Regions from separate parts of the Homo sapiens genome. Here region 2 is linked to region 1. The links are contacts of gene promoters, found by promoter capture Hi-C in human tissues and cell types (Jung and others, 2019). All regions are on one chromosome and are shown on one strand. Each heading gives the region's core, a stretch centred on a gene start or on the middle of the fragment in contact. The rest is flanking DNA. Distances are from core to core; before and after follow the strand shown.

Region 1 (5,047 bases), core at 709-3,208:
GTCTAAACCAGGATTCTTTTTTTGTTGTTTGAGACGGAGTTTCCCTCTTGTTGCCCAGGCTGGGGTGCAATGGCGTGATCTCGGCTCACTGCAACCTCTGCTTCCCAGGTTCAAGCAATTATCCTGCCTCAGCCTCCCGAGTAGCTGGGATTATAGGCATCCACTACCATGCCTGGCTAATTTTGTATTTTTAGTAGAGACAGTGTTTCACCATGTTGGTCAGGCTGGTCTTGAACTCCTGACCTCAAATGATCCACCTGCCTCAGCCTCCCAAAGTGCTGGGATTACAGGCATGAATCACCACACCTGGCCTAAACCAAGTATTATTAATTCCAAATAAAACCAATACATCAGACCAGTCTGGGTATTATTTGGAAAAAAACAAAAAACAAAAACCAATAAAGTATTAACAATCACCGATTTAATTATGCCAGATGTGTACACCTTCCTTACATTTTAGGAAGTTAGGAACAATGACTCCAGCAGGCTGAATTAAGGAATTCCTTTTTCCCAGTCACCACTTAAAAAAAATTCTTTTTTGGTTCTTCTTCTTTCAAGTATTCTTTATACCAACACTTTCAGTGCCAGATTGTATGGGTAGGGAGACGGGTTTTGAACAGATGAAGGAAAAACCCTGAGGCTACTCCTAACTTCCACTCAGACCATGAGCAAAAAAAATGCTCTATTGAATATGTACTGTATATGTACATTACCTGCACCTTGCTCACCCAGGTCAGAAAGAGCATGGGGACTCAGACAGAACCTTAGCCACTGATTTTTGCTAATACACAGTCATGCTATGCTTAATGAAGGAGGTATGTTCTGAGTGTTACGTGATTTCACAGTGCAGACATCACAGGGTGTACTGAGACAAACCTAGATGGTCTAGCCTATTGCTCCTAGGCTACAACCTGTACAGCATGTTAATGTAGTGAATAATGTAGACAGTTGAAACACAATGGTAAATATTTACATAGCTAAACACAGAAAACGTACACTAAAAATATGGTACAATGTATTACACTCTTAGGAGACCACTGTGGTATATGTGGTTTGTTGTTAATCAAAAAGTTGTTATGCTGTGCATGCCTGTACTATGGCTGGGTACCTTTTTTGCTTGTCTTAATATTTTTTTTCTCTGGAGTGGTGTGTTAAGAGGAAAATTTTCTTTTCCCCTTTTAGTATGATGTTAAGGAGTAAATTTAAGCTTTATGTATCGACAATATAAACTTCTTTCGAAACGCTAATTTTGCTTATTGCCAAATTATGAAATGATACATTATATAAATAGGCTTGGTGCCTCGAAGAGACAGACCTGTAGGTATGTGTGTATATGTATATAAAGTTTACAAATGTAATCAGTAATTTTCACATCTTATCTTACAAAGTCAGCAAATTACCGTGAAAATATCAGGCTCAACCAAATTCAAATTTCTGATTTAAAAAGAGCGTGCGGTGTGTATTTGAGATGGGAAGATCAACCATCACAAATGGAAAAATACTGACTCTATGGCATGCCAATTCGTGAAGGAATGAGAAAACTGCCTCATGTTTGGTGTTATGGGGGAATTATTTAGAAAACTTCAGGAACTCAACATAGATACGTCGCTTTTTAAGTTTCTCATTTGAAACTATGCGTTACACGTTCTGCTGAGAGCCGCGAAGGCAGGCAGAGGTTAAGGTCCTGGAATAAAAAGGGTGGCGGGAGAGAGGGGCAGAGCGTTTTGGCAGCCGAGTCTGGGGAGGGGGCCCCGCAGGAGAGAAGGCCGCAGCTGAGGAGGCGTTTACCTTCAGGTGGGTTGGGCCTGGGAGACCAGAAGAGTGCGAGCCCTCGGCTCAGCTGGGGCTCAACCCCGACTCTTCGTAGCCGCTCGCAGCGGCCTTGGCATCACGAGTCCTGGGAGGGGTCAGGCGCGGAGAGCAGATAATAGCAGCCACGGTGCTTCTTCCCGACTGTTTGAGATCCGGGCCCCGAAGGCGGGCCCAGAGGCGAGCGCTTCGCTAACGTCATTGCGCGCGCCGGAAGTACCTACCTGGGATAACGGCGGCGAGCGGACGGCTGCATTTACGGGGTCTCCCGGAGGGCCAGAGTCGGTGAGCGCTTTTTACCTTTCCCAGAGATGGATGCAGAGCGTGTGCGGGCTGCTAAACGGGGGGGAGTGGGCGGGAGTTTTCTGTGTCGGGTCCTGGATTCTCCTGCCTTTGAATTGTGTGACAATTCTGCCCATGCGGTTGAGGGTGGAGAGACGCAGTGGAGTTTGGAATAAAGGGAAGTATTGAGTCTAAGATAGGGGTTCGCCTCTCTGTAGCGCCTTAATATGCAAGAAGACGACTGAGCTAGGTAACTTCAGTGACCCGAGAGGAGTCAGGAAGTCGGTAATTTTACTGAAGGTGTTCACGGTACCCAGCTATTAGGCACTTTGGGAACTACAAAATAAACAGACCTTTTATGTTTTGTTTTGTTTTGTTTTCTGGTGAAGATCTCAGTCTAGTTGGGGAGACGAGGTCAACTTGGGGAGAGTTGGATTCACAGAATGACTCATCTTTAGTATGGGTATGGACAAGTGTTGATCTTCTTGGCACCTTTTCTCTTCCTGTAAATCTATAATGGCTACGCACTGCTTTTTCTCTAAGAGGCCATAACATGCCCACCATTCCTACAGAAAAATCAGAACGTAATGCAAGGTAATTTATACTTCTGCCTACCAGCACATACAGACCAGGCCTCTAACCACTCCCTGGGAGCCTGCGTTCCAGCAGCCTGGAACCCACAGCCTCTCCTGGAGCCTGCACAATCAATCCAGAGTGAAGCCGATGTCTTCTATAGAGACGGAAGTACAATCCATCCAGGGCGCAGCTGAATTTTGAGAGGCCTGAATGCCTCCGTGGCCGACAGGAGACCGCTGGCACTAATTCTCTAGGCATACTTGTGGCCAGCCAAACTTACCATGCTTTACATCTCTGTTATCCTTGGTTACCGCCCAAGATGTAAGCTTCTGTGGTCTTCTGTGCTATAGTCTCATTTCCATGCTGCTTTGTGCTTTCTTTCGACTTAGGCTATCACTGCTTCTTCGTTTCTTCCCCATTTAACCCCTCAACACCCCATCTGTGCTTTCTGAAACCTCTATTTCCTGCTTAAACTATTTTACATATTCAACTTCTTTAGTGAAATTCTCCTTCATCTCCTAACCTTAACTATTGATAACACGTAGATTTTCCTGCCAGCCATTTCAGTTGAGCCCTTTCTCTGACCCTGCATTTAAAGGTTGGGCATGGCTGTAGCCATGTTGAACGGATTTCAATTCCTCAGAATACTTTCTTCCCTCAGTATCTTCACAAAGGCTCTTTTCTCTCTCTGGGACATTTGAGCTCCCTGTTTCCTCCTATCTTTTTCTGGATAACTTCTATTAAAGATCTGAGTTTAGCTGTCACTTTACTTGAGGGGTATACCCTAACTTCCATAGAGTTAGGTATTTTTGCTATGTACTCTTAGCTGTCCTGCACTTCCCTCACGGCATTTATCACATGTATCTTAATTGCTTCTTTGCCATCCCTACTAAGCGAGACTGTCGGTGAGGGACTGTGTTTGTCTCGTTTATCTTTGTAACTCCAGTAGCTAATACAGTTCTTGGCACATAAGACAGTCAGTTATTTCTTGAATGATTGCAGGTGCTGAAGGTATGCTGCAGAGATCAGGCAGTTAACGTTAATGAATACTTCACCCTTAGAAGGGGTCACCTGCCACTCAGCTACAGCTGATTGTGGCTATGTGAGAATATGATCCCAGTTTTGCCAGAACATCTAATTTTTTCAAAAAAAGTTGGAAATACCATTTTTTAAAAAGCATCCTCTCCCAGTTTTTAAATGTTGTCAGTGGAATAGAATTTTATTAAAAAAAAAAAAGTGGGTCAAACACAAGTCTCATATGGCCTATCAGTCACTAGTTTGGAATCTGTTTTAAGTCTTGTAGGGTTTATATAATGGGCTTTGTGGAGAATAATAGGTTTTGAGTTGGGCCTTGATGGACCGTTGGATGTTGAATGAGAGAATGGAAAAAGATATCCCGTTTGGAAAATAAACAGCTCCGTGGTAGTATGTGTTAGTCTGTTTGTGGCACAGTAAGGAAACAGGCATAATTATATGCTTTTGGAGAGAATAGAAGGTTAGATATAATAGAAGGAGGCATATGGAAGATAGAAGTTTGGATTTATTATGGTTAATAAAAAACCTCTTGGATTCTTGATCCTGGAAACTTCACATTATGAATATGCGTTAACAGTTGATTATCCTTTTTTAGGGTAAAATGGAGGGTAAAACACTGGAAGGAGGCTGACCGGTTAAGGCCTTAACTTCCATCCATATATGAAATAAAATTCAGATTTATAAATATTATATGTAGGCAGACATCTGGCATTTTTGTTTACTTGTGTAATTTCAGTTAATTGATCAATTATAATGGACAATCAGGGATCTCCTACTAAGTTTAGTGCAGTACATTCGGGCTTATAAAAGAAGTATCCTTAAAGCGTTGGAAAGTCAAGTGACTTGTGAAACTAGTAGAGAATGCAGTACTTTTTATTTTTTTATTTTTTGAGACGGTGTCTTGCTCTGTTGCCCAGGCTGGAGTGCAGTGGCACGATCATGGCTCACTGCAACCTCCATCTCCCAGGTTCAAGGGATTCTCCTGCCTCAACTTCCTGAGTAGCTGGAATTACAGGCATGTCCCACCATGCCTGGTTAATTTTTGTATATTTTTTAAGTGGAGACGGGGTATTACTATGTTGGCCAGACTGATCTTGAACTCTCAACCTCAAATGATCCGCCAGGCTCAGCCTCCCAAAATGGTGGGATTACGGGCATGAGCCACCGCACCCAGCCCCAGCATCAGTTAATTTTTTTTTTTCAATGACCTTAACTAATTATGTTCTAAAATTTATGTTTAGTTGTCTGGAATTTCAATTTTTTTTTTTTTTTGTGTGTGTGTGTGACGGAGTCTCACTCTGTCACCCAGGCTGGAGTGCAGTGGCGCGATCTTGGCTCACTGCAA
Region 2 (5,025 bases), core at 764-3,263, 1.1 Mb before region 1:
TAAATATGGGACTAATTGAAGTGGACCGGCTGAGAGACTGAGGAAGGATGCATTCCTGGCACTCCTCAGACCCCAGCTTTTGAAGCCAGCCAACAGTCTGTGTAAATGACCCCACTAACCTACACCGGAAGGGGTTAGAAGGTTACCTAAACACACAGTCCTTTAGAAACCTATTAGAAACACCTTTCAGAGCATTGAAATATGCTGAATTCCTAAATATGCCTCGTCTGTCTTATCAATTATAAAGTAAGAATTAAAGAATACTGGTTTGGAGATGAGCACTGTAATTTTATGTTGTTCAGATATAAACTTTTAAAGTAGTACAATCAAATATGAACTCTTCATCTTGATAGCAATAGGTATGTCTCAAGCCCTAGGACCTTCTCACCTGATGTATTATTGTGCCATTGTGTTTCTTTTGCAACAATATATACCTCCTAGGAAAATAAGAAAAAGGCCAAAAAATGAAACAAAACTAAAAACAATATGGGTTTAAAGTTTAGCTTTTCAATATTATAGTTTTTCTTAGAAAATATTAAACTAACAAAGAAGATAAGCAATTATATTAACCAGGGCCACACATTCGAAAAACTTAGAAGGGCTAGGCAGACTTCACCCATGAAGGATCAGGGAGTGAGTTCCTATGCACACAGTGTGCTTTTGAATGGTGAGGATTTTGGGGAACTAGACACATAAGTTAATTTAAAAGCATGTGGGCCCAGAAATGCTAGACCTTATGTTTTTTAGAAAAAAATAGAAACCTAAATTTAGATGTAAAACATCTCAATTTTTAAATGCTGGTTTGAAAATTTTAAAAACCCTCTATGAAGAACCAAACCACATACACGCGGGCCTCAGGGGCCATTTGGCATACAGGCAATCAGTTTACAACCTTTGATGAAATGCATAGATATGCACAAACTTAAAGCTTTGTGTATCACAGGCACACCAAAAATATTTGTTTAACCAGCTTGAACATTACCAGGCATCAGCATTACGTAATTTCATTTCCAAATGTATAACACTCATTTTTTTTCATTGTTGAACTTTCAAAGTTAAATTAAAGCTAAAGAGTTATATTTAACTGTGTAAGTTAGTAACTTAGCCATTTCAGGAATCAAATTAATCCCAGAGAAAATAAACTCTACATTTATTTGAAATATTTTTTACAGTCTGATAACCCATGTTTACTGAGCACCTAGATTAAAAGACATTGAAGAGTGATTGAATAGTTTCTAACCAAAGAAGTTTGCAATCTAGTGAATAAGAAAGACTACCTTTAATATAACACAGATAAAAGTAAATGTACAAATGTCATGAGGGACAGAAGAAAATTATCTTATTTGTGCCTTTGTAGCACAAAGGCAGGAAAGATTGATTCTTTGCAGGGATCAAAGATCAAAGAAATCACCTTGAAGGAAGTGGCATTTCAGATGTGTATGACAGAGTGAGACATAGCAGAATTGGGGGCAGGGTGCTTCACAGTACTTGGACTGAGCATTGGGAAATCTGGCATGGCTGGAGCACAGAGGAAACGAAGGTGAGGCGGGAGGCTCATTTAGGGCAAGATTACAGAGAGCCTTGGGTGTCATGTTGGTGCCTGTTTTAGGATTTTATAGAAGGAGAAGAAGATAAGGCTGGTGCATTGCAAAACAAATTAGAGATGAAGGAAAAGAGACTAAGAGAGAAGAAAGGTCAGTTAGGAGGCCTTTTCAATAGTATGGGCAATAGATAATGAGGACTTGAATGGGTGTGGGGGAGTGGGACTCTGAAGAGGTGATAGATTTGGATGTCATAGCATATGACAGTCTGGGGATTGTTTTTTTGTTTCTTTTTGCCAATATGGCAAGTGAAACAATTAGACCTAGATCTTAATTTTTTCTTCCCACTTTATTAGCTCACCATTCTTTCTGAATTTCAGCACAATCAATAGAATAAGGAAGGTGTGATAAGACCATAGATACTTGGATTTTCTTTCATAGCCCCATAACAATTTATATTTTAAGCTTCTGCATCTATTTTATTTTATGTGTGGGGTTTATTGAAGAGGGGGCTCCAGAGAAGATAGAAAATGTCTTTTTCATAATATTATACTCTAAAAATGGAAGACTGATAACATTTCAAATGTTTACACAGGAAACATTTAACATAAGTAACAGATTGCAAAAAGGCAAGAAGGATTAGAATTCACAAAACTAACTTGCATCACTGGAAAAATAAAACATGAAAATAAAAAACATAATTAGGTGATATTAACTTGTAATCATTATACCTTCTTGATACTGGTGCCCCCTCATAGGCACTTCTTGGGAAAAATGGGAATCTAGAGTTTTCAAATGGACAGAGCATACAGTCCAGAAATACTTGATGAAATAAAGTAATTATTTCATAATATTTTAAAAAGAAATGTATTTCCTAGTTTTTTCTCATAAAATGGAAGTATAAAACATCTGACAAAATTAAGGTCACTAAATATGGGCACGTTTGTAGCAAACACCTTTATGGATCATATTGGCCATGTTATTGCTATAGATGTTTAAATAAATGTCTCAATTACAAGCTTTCCTGATTTTATTGCTACTGTATTCCCAGTATGTGTTGCTTTGTAATGTATGGTAAAATAATCTAATTTAATACTTTAACATTTTTGTCATGAAATATTTGCCCATACCTATGTCCTGAATGGTATTGCCTAGATTTTCTTCTAGGATTTTTATAATTTTGGGTTTTACAGTTCAGTCGTTAATCCATCTTGAGTTAATTTTTGTATAAGTTGTAAGGAAGGGGTCCAGTTTCAATTTTCTGCATATGGCTAGCCAGCTCTCCCAGCACCATTAATTAAATGGGGAGTCCTTTCTCCATTGCTTGTTTTCGTCAGCTTTGTCAAAATTCACATAGTTGTAGGTGCGTGGTCTTATTTCTGAGATCTCTATTCTGTTCCATTTGTCTATGTGTCTGTTTTTGTAGCAGTACCGTGCTATTTTGGTTACTAAAGCCTTGTAGTACAGTTTGAAGTTGGGTAGCGTGATGCCTCCAGCTTTGTTCTTTTTGCTTAGGATTGTCTTGGCTACTCAGGCTCTTTTTTCTTTCCATATGAATTTTAAAATAGTTTTTTTTCTAATTCTGTGAAGAATGTCAATGGTAGTTTAACGGGAATAACACTGACTCTATAGATTACTTTGAGCAGTACAGCCATTTTCACGATATTGATTCTTTCTAACCATGAGCATGGAATGTTTTTGCATCTGCTTGTGTCTTCTTTGATTTCCTTGAGCAGTGGTTTGTAGTTCTCTTTGAAGAGGGCCTTCACTTTCCTTGTCAGCTGTATTCCTAGGTATTTTACTCTCTTTGTGGCAATTGTAAATGATAGTTCATTCATGATTTGGCTCTCTCTGCTTGCCTGCTGTTGATGTATAGGAATGCTAGTAATGTTTTGCACATCGATTTTGTATCCTGAGACTTTGCAGAAGTTGCTTATCAGGTTAAATTTGACAAATGGGATTTAATTAAACTACAGAGCTTCTGCACAGCAAAAGAATCTATCATTAGAGTGAACAGAAAACCTACAGAATGGGAGAAAATTTTTGCAACCTGTCCATCTGACAAAGGTCTAATATCCAGAGTCTACAAGGAACTTAAACAAATTTAGAAGAAAGAAAACAAACAACCCCATTAAAAAGTGGGCAAAGAACATGGACAGACACCTCTCAAAAGAAGACATACACGCAGCCAAAAAGCACAAGAAAAAAAGCTCAACATCACTGATCATTAGAGAAATTCCAATCAAAACCACAATGAGATACCATCTCATACCAGTCAGAATGGCTATTATTAAAAAATAAAAAATAAAATAAAAAACCTCAGAATGGCTATTATTAAAAAATAAAAAATAAAAAACTCCGAAGTGCTATTATTAAAAAATAAAATAAAAAAACAACAGATGCTGGCGAGGTTGTATAGAAAAGGGAATGCTTTTACACTGTTGGCGAGAATGCAAATTAGTTCAAACACTGTGAAAGACAGTGTGGTGATTCCTCAAAGACCTAGAGGCAGAAATACCATTTGACCCAGCAATCCTATTACTGAGTAGTATACCCAAAGGACTAGAGGTCATTCTATTGTAAAGACACCTACATGCATATATTCTTTGCAGCACTATTCACAATAGCAAAGACATAGAATCAACCTGAATACCCATCAATGATAGACTGGATAAAGATAATGTGGTAAATATACACCATGGAATAGTATGCAGCCATAAAAAGGAACAAGATCATGTCCTTTGCAGGGGCATGGATGGAGTTGGAAGTCATTATCCTCAGCAAACTAACGCAGGGACAGAAAACCAAACACCACATGTTCTCACTTACAAGTGGGAGCTGAATGATGAGAACACATGGACACATGCGGGCTGAACCATACACACTGGGGCCTGTTGGGTGGAGGAATGTTGTGGGGAGGGACAGCATCAGGAAGAATAGCTAGTAAATGCTTGCCTTAATACCTAGGTGATGGGTTGAACTGTGCAGCAAACCACCATGGCACATGTTTACCCATGTCACAAACATGCACATGTATCCCTGAACTTAAAATAAAAGTTGAAGGAAAAAATACTATAGGGGATAAATCTGCCACCTGTTCTGTTTTCCCAATTTGGAAATAGTGTAATAACATAGGGAAATTACATGCTTTACTGTGTTCAATTCATTTACCAAATATTAGCTGAGTACTACCAGGTAAAAGGTGCCATATGCTATTGGGGGTAAGAAAGGTGACAAAAGACACATCAAATAAGTCATTTTCAAGAAATCGGATTTTATTTTACGAAGCTTTAGAAAGTCAAATTGTCCTTTCTTAAACAGCTTATATTTTCTGCTGATTCACTGGGAAGCATATATACCGGAGATGCTACAGGAGTAAACAGAGTTGTGTAATGTAGGATTTTGAAGAATATAAAAGCACATATTTAAAAAGGCAAATGTTAAAAATGAAAACCTTGAAATGGATTGGGCTAAATTTTTTTCA

Evidence for each region. Contacts are between HindIII fragments. The study calls those that stand out against the background at their distance.
Region 2: a fragment that was not itself captured here is called in contact with the fragment with the promoter of ZCRB1 in region 1 in 1 of the 25 tissues and cell types used here (dorsolateral prefrontal cortex).

The regions. Positions count from the first base shown.
Region 1 is chr12:42,324,136-42,329,182 of GRCh38, forward strand. ZCRB1 (zinc finger CCHC-type and RNA binding motif containing 1) reads right to left here and starts at 1,959. Exons shown (of 8, transcript NM_033114.4): 1 at 1,789-1,959. It overlaps PPHLN1 (periphilin 1), which reads left to right and starts at 2,032. Exons shown (of 10, transcript NM_201439.2): 1 at 2,032-2,094. RefSeq lists an enhancer at 1,655-1,704. The HindIII fragment of the contact is 5,260 bases long and covers 8-5,047 here.
Region 2 is chr12:41,234,876-41,239,900 of GRCh38, forward strand. The region is part of intron 3 of PDZRN4 (PDZ domain containing ring finger 4); the gene reads left to right. Among named protein-coding and RNA genes, the nearest start is that of PDZRN4, 49 kb to the left of the region's middle. The HindIII fragment of the contact is 3,362 bases long and covers 333-3,694 here.